Regions from separate parts of the Homo sapiens genome. Here region 2 is linked to region 1. The links are contacts of gene promoters, found by promoter capture Hi-C in blood cells and fetal thymus (Javierre and others, 2016). All regions are on one chromosome and are shown on one strand. Each heading gives the region's core, a stretch centred on a gene start or on the middle of the fragment in contact. The rest is flanking DNA. Distances are from core to core; before and after follow the strand shown.

Region 1 (3,314 bases), core at 608-3,107:
CTCCAGTCAAGCCCTCCAAGAGCTTTCCCTAAACTGCTTCTTAAATGAGCCACCCGGGGGATAAGGTGACCATTAAGTCACCCTCCACACAGAATCCTCTTTGGAGAGACAGCGGAGTTCCTGGGCCCCAGCTCCAGTGATCCCTGGATCCTTAGACCAGAGGTTAAGGCCAGGACAAGTCAGCCAACTTCTGGCTCCTCTGCCACACGGGCTGGGGCCCTCTTGGGTCCGGGGATGAGGTAAGTGGGGTGCAGGGACACCCTCAAAGTCCGTGGGTGAAGGACAGGTTCAACCCAAATACTTCCCTATCCAAACTGACCAGCAGAGAAGGTCTAACCGAAGAAGCGCTCAGAGGCCGGGAGGACACTGGCGCCGCTGCTCCTGCTCCCGGAGCAGAGAAGCTTCTCCCGTGCTCCCCACCTCCGCGGCCTCCTAAAGGTCACTTCTGGGCCCGCTGGTCGGGCAGTGTCTGCTCGTCTGGCCCCCAGGGAGGCCTGAGGCGAGGAACTGGCTATTTGGGGCTGGGCCCGCGGAGCCAGGTGTAGAGATCCAAATGGAGTCTCCTTCGGCGAGGGCCAGGCCGGAGCCTGAACTCCCAGCCCTGGCCTGGCTAAGTCTGACCAGTCAAGGGTCTGGGGACGCGATCAACGACAAATGTTGGCCCCGAAGACTTCGGCCTCTGAAACTGCGCTGGGGGTTGAGGAGGATCCCCGATTGCCGGAAAGCTGGGAGCGGCCCAAGCCGGCTGGAGCCCCAATGCTCCCAGCTGGTTCGCCCTTCCCTGGCGCCGCTCGCGGCGCCGCCAGCAACCGGAGCCGAGAGGTGGAGGAGAGCGCGGGGCTGTCGACCCCGGCACCGGGCAAGGTGAGAAGGGAGCCGCCCCGGGCCGCGGATGGGACTTCGCTTCCAGTTCGGAAGAAACGCTCTCCTCTACCCCCAGGGCCGAGATTTCGGTTTCAACCTTGTTTCCCTTCTGCGTCCCAGCAGCCGGGTTTCCCCCGAACCGGGAGCCACCGGCCTTGCATTCTGACCGAGGATCCCCAGCACCCAGTCCCGTGCGGCACGAAGGACGCTCCCCAAACTTCGGGGAGCAGAGGCGCTGACTGGCCCGGCCCCATCCCAGCTCTCAGCCCCGACCCCACAGCCGCGCGCCTACCGTCTCGGTGTCGCCGCGGTCGATGGCGGAGCTGATGGCGGGAGCCTCGCTCTTGGCCCTGCGGTCCATCTCGTCGATGACCCCGTGCACCTCGGGGCCCGACAGACTGTGGAACAGCATCGCGGCGGGACCGGCGGGGCCGGGGGCGCGGCTCCTCCGAGGGAGGGCTTGCCCCCCGCCTCAGCTGCCTGGCGCTCCTGGCGCTAACGGGCCCGGTGCATCGCCACCGCGGCCCCGGCCCCGCCCGAGCTCGGCTGAGCCCCCAGGCCGGGCTCCGGGCCCCGGGCGCTCGCGGGGCAGGACGCCTCCCGCCGAGGCGCAGGGGCAGCTACATTGCGGGGCGCCTGGGCGACGGCGCCAAAGCCAGGGTCACAAGGGCACGGGACAAGCGGGGCGGGGGGAGCAGGAGACTAGGACAGAGGTCGGCGCCCGCCGCGGGCGCTTTCACGCCGCGGGCATCGCCCGCCCGGCTTCAGCGCCCGGGGCGCAAAGCAAGGGCGCAAACTCTGCCCGAGGCGGCGACGGCTGCGGTCGGGGTTCACCCTGAAGCCGCTAGGTGTCCGCGGCGGCCCAGCTGCCTGGACCCCTCCCCTCCCTGGGGTGCGCCCCCAGCCCAAGGCGACCCTCTTGGGCGCTGAGTCGGCGACTGGAGTAGGGGTTTCTCCGAAGCCTGCGAGCCGAGTCGAGCCACCGGGAGAATTGAAGAGGAGGAGGAAGAGGAGGAGGAGGAGGCGGAGGAGGAGGTGGAGGAGGAGAAAAAAGAGGAGGAGCAGAGTGGGAGGAGGAGCCGCCGGCCGCGGGCCCAGCCGCGCGCAATGCTCTCCAAGCGCGCGCCTAGCCCAGCCCCGGCTCTGCAGTCCGCGCCAGCGCAAGCCTCCGCGCCTTTTCTACAGCCGCGCCTGACATCACGTCCTGCCGCCGTGCCATTGGCCGCTCGGCGCCCCAGGCCCTGGCAGCGCGTGCTCCGGGAAGGCGGGAGACCCAAGAGGGAGGGGAGAGGCAAGAGGAGCAGAGGAGAGTCGAGATGGTGGGAGCTGGTGGGCGAGGCTGGAGGGCGGGGGTGGGGGGGAGGCAGGGAGGAGGGAGAGCGCGGGGTTTGGAGTTTTTAAGATACGAACAGCTTCCTGCGATATCTTCAGAAAGGAAAATTAAACCCTCTATCCTAAGAAGGCGCAGCAAGGGGATGCTCGTCTCACTGCGGTCTCCCCTCGGCCTGGAGCCGCGGCCTCAGGCACCCGCCTGGGAGGCCCGGGAAGGCAGGCCTGTGGCAGAGTTGCAAGAGCCTTCGGCCGGCCGTTTCCCATCGAGCTCCGCCTTCGGCCCGGGCTCTGCACAGCGGGCTGCAGGCGGCCGTGCAAGCCTCCTGGGTACCCGGCAGAGCCTGAGTGGCGAGACCGGCGAGAGCTGTGACTCCCGGGGAGGGGGGCCAGCCAGCATATCCACGCTCCAAGCCCGCTAGGGCCCAATCTGCAGCCCAGCGTGTAGCTTCTCGCTCTTCCCGGTCTCTCCCCAGCCTGGAAGAGTGGGGGCGAGCATGGCTTTAGGAACTCAGAAAGGCCAGGGTTCGAATCCTAGCTCTGCCATTTACATGCACTGTAACCTTAGGCAGTGACTTATCCTCCCTTAGCCTGTTTCTGACCTTTATAATGGGCGACAAGAAGCTCTCCTCCGCATGGACGTGTTGATTGAAAGAGACTGTGGATGTAAAATGCCTGGAACATAGTAGGCACTTAGCAAATTATTTCATTACTCTCTCTTGCTCCTTTTCCATTAAAAACTTTCTCACTCCAAGACACATTCGATATCAGTGAGGTTCTTAAAAACCACAGGCCTATTCTCTGCCCACTGGGCACACCATGTCTCAGACCCCGCTGATGGCGCGAGTCCTCCTTACCCGCCTGGCTGCACCACCTCCCCAGGGGCCAACAAAGTAGCGTGCTGGGTAAATCCCAACTGCTACCCCCAGCCTCCAGGTTTCAGGCTCACCCTAGAGTCTCCTGGGGACTGGAGGGAAATACCCAGGTGTCTGGTGGGGGAGGGATTTAGGAAATAAAATGATTGTAGACAAAAACTGAATAAGCACTTCGGTTACAGAGTCCCATCTGGGTCTGCTTCGGAGGCAGGTTTGGCTCCGTCTAATAGGGACAAGGCGGGTGTC
Region 2 (3,314 bases), core at 294-2,793, 250 kb after region 1:
ACGTAGTAGTGTTTCTTAAAAGCACAACCTTATTTGTAACTTGGAATCATCCAGACCTGTTGCTTTAAATATTTTAATAAAACAGGATTTCCCCTCCCCCATTGAGGCCCACTTTTCTCCCCAATCACTTTAATTATGTGAGCTAGAATGCTGTTTCTCACACATCTTCAGTTCTCAACCTTGTTAAAATTAATCATATAATCCCCCTTTAAAACATAGTATTAAATCACCATAGTAACACAGTATCCAAGCTTTATGGATAAAACATAACAGGCATAGGAAGGTAGCGTTTGGTGTCCCCTTGACGGCCCTATAACTTTTATAGAAATGTGTTTCTTCTCCTGGCTGTGTAAGGTGGAGGGATAGCATTACTTACACCTGCTTTATGACCACGTTGCTTTTAAATTGCCACCTTGTTTTTGTTCACCTTCCTAGTTAAATAAGGAGAGTGGAACACTTTTTCTTTCTGAATTATTTTCTTGTACTCTCTAACCACTCTCTAAGAGATGGAGTTGTCTCCTTAAATATGACCAGGCAGAGTCCATTGACCTTTGTATTGGAATACCTTGAAAATTCCTTTAATTTTAATTATTTATGTGGCTGTATAAGGGAGTTTTAGAAAGTCTACCCTATCTTTGAAAACTTTATTCATATCATATCCAAAGACTCAATAAGAATTCTACCTTTGGAAAAAGCTTGGTAAACCATGATTTTTAAATTTCTTCTGATAATTTATAAAGTAATAATTGATAGCATAGATTTGACTATTTTACCAATTTGAATACACTTTGTAAAATACAATATGAGTTGATGAGTTCCTTTGAATAACTCAGTGTTGAATTCTAGCATATTACGTTAATATAAATTCATGTATTAGAATTTGGATTTTTTAACCAAAAATACCTTTATTTTAATCTTCAGAGAAAAAACTCTTTTCTTCTTTTTCTGAGATAATTACTGTAACTTACAAAAATGGATATACATCTTCAAAGGATTTCCCTTGAATGCGAAATTTAGCTTTATGGGATCTAAGCATTTAAAGGTAAAAAGCAAATTCTATTTTGTTGCCATTATAAGACAAAACTGAATCTAGCATAAGGTAGGGAAACCCATTCACTCTTCAGGTTCTTCTCTGACAGGAACTAGCATTGTTATATTATTTCCACTTAGCAAAATCTGCTCTAATTTAATTATACTTCTTCCTGGCCAGGCGGTAATCCCAGCACTTTGAGAGGCTGAGGCAAGCGGATCACTTAAGGCCAGGAGTTTGAGACCAGCCTGGCCAACATGGCAAAACCTTCTGTCTACTAAAAATGCAAAAATTAGCTGGGCGTGTTGGTGCACGCTTGAAATTCCAGCTACTCAGGAGGCTGAGACATGAGAATCACTTGAACCCGGGAGGCAGAGGTTGCAGTGAGCCAATATTGTGCCACTGTACCCCAGCCTGGGTGACAGAACAAGACTGTGTCTCAAAGTAATAGTAATAATAATAACAACAATAGTACTTCTTCCTTCTGGTGTGATTTCAAACTCAGTGACCTCTTCTAGTCCATCTTGACAAAGTCATCAACTCCTAGAAGAGTACCCACGATTTCTTAATGACTCTTCACCACAATGTGAATTCTTGAGCCTATACATTTGTCTACAAGCTCTAGCAGCAACAGCTGGGCAAGTAGGTGGTAGCCTTAGCCGCCATAACTGTGACGGAAGCGGGATGTTTAAATTTTTAAAATGGAATGAAATCCAAGCTAACTGGTAAACTGATTTTAAAAACTGGATTTTTAGACATTTTACAACTTTAAAAAAAGAGTTTGGCCGGGCGCGGTGGCTCACGCCTGTAATCCCAGCACTTTGGGAGGCCGAGGCAGGTGGATCACGAGGTCAGGAGATCAAGACCATCCTGGCTAACATGGAGAAACCCCGTCTCTACTAAAAATATAAAAAAATTAGCTGGGCATGGTGGCGGGCACCTGTAGTTCCAGGTACTCGGGAGGCTGAGGCAGGAGAATTGTGTGAACCAGGGAGGTGGAGGTTGCAGTGAGCTGAGATCACACCACTGCACTCCAGCCTGGCAACAGAGCGAGACTACATCTCAAAACAGAAAAACAAAACAAAGAGTTTCTGTAATCTGATTAGTATTGTTTTTAAAATTTTTAAAAATAGATATTTTAATGTTGCGTTTATGTGTGGTTTTTAAATTTTTGTATTGATATATTTTTAGCTTTTTTCCTTTAACGTCTTTCTTTAAAATGTTGTTTCCATTTCTTAGAAAACACCATGCAATGCTAGACATTTTGGTTATTTCTGTCCTCTAAAATAGGAAATATGTTTCTCATAAATTCAGAAATTATGAAAGATATAGGAATTTAGGAAAGTAACACCTAAGCTTGCCCTGTTTTCTTTCCAGTTTCAATTTCAGCTCCTCCTCTTTGTAGCTGTGTGAACGTGATTCAGTTACTAAGGATGTATTCTGGTCCTTAGTTTCCTTTTCTGTAAAATGGGAACATCCTCTAAATTCCATGGTTGTCCTGAGAGTCAGGGAGATGGTCTACGCATATATGATGTCTAACTTTGTGGCTGGCACATAGTAACATTTACCTTTTGCTCTGGCAAGCACTCTTATTTTCTGAACTAGGGAAGTTCTCAGGTGAGGATTGTTAGCAGCAAGCTGGTAGAGTGGCCTGTGGAATCAGCGCGAGGGTTAAAATCCAGCTTTTTGCCACTGATCAGCTGACCTTAGGCAATGCCTCTCTAGACTATTTCTTCATCAGCAAAATGAGGTTAATAGAGGGCACCTTTCGGAATTGATGGGCTGACTAACAGAGCTGCCTCAGAGACTGAACTCAGTAAGGAGAAGGTATGATAGCTCTGATTATTTGATTTCTGAGGTGGTCACTAGAATAGGCTGCTGGCTGTCTTTTTTTTTTTTTTTTTTTTAACTAGCTTACAGTCTGTTCCCTTGAAATGTGTAAATTTTAAGAGTTCCACTGAGAGAGGAAATGTTATAAGTTCAACGACTCATTGTGATTAGATACTTTATCAAGAAACTTACTGCACATTCATTTTCCCCTTTGTTCTGCCTTTGCTGCAGCCTCACAGTTAGCCAAGTTGGCCAGAACTTCACATTCGTGCTCACTGACATTGACAGCAAACAGAGATTCGGGTTCTGCCGCTTATCTTCAGGAGCGAAGAGCTGCTTCTGTATCTTAAGGTAAGGGAGAAGGCTTGGGCTGTTGGCTTGTTCTCTGAAGCAATGTCAGCTTCTGCATTGCTCTTCCGTAATTAAATCTTCCAGCTGTTCATTTCATTTTCCT

What was found. Contacts are between HindIII fragments. The CHiCAGO score rates a contact against its expected background, and 5 or more counts as called.
Region 2: a fragment that was not itself captured here is called in contact with the fragment with the promoter of LHX2 in region 1 in 1 of 17 cell types (M1 macrophages); the score reaches 6.5 in M1 macrophages.

What each region holds. Positions count from the first base shown.
Region 1 is chr9:124,010,311-124,013,624 of GRCh38, reverse strand. It overlaps LHX2 (LIM homeobox 2), which reads right to left and starts at 1,857. Exons shown (of 5, transcript NM_004789.4): 1 at 1,157-1,857. The coding sequence starts at 1,276. RefSeq lists enhancers at 1-372, 373-945 and a silencer at 1,884-1,933. The HindIII fragment of the contact is 7,434 bases long and covers 404-3,314 here.
Region 2 is chr9:123,757,600-123,760,913 of GRCh38, reverse strand. DENND1A (DENN domain containing 1A) reads left to right here. Exons shown (of 24, transcript NM_001352964.2): 5 at 3,092-3,211. Among named protein-coding and RNA genes, the nearest start is that of DENND1A, 170 kb to the left of the region's middle. The HindIII fragment of the contact is 1,691 bases long and covers 698-2,388 here.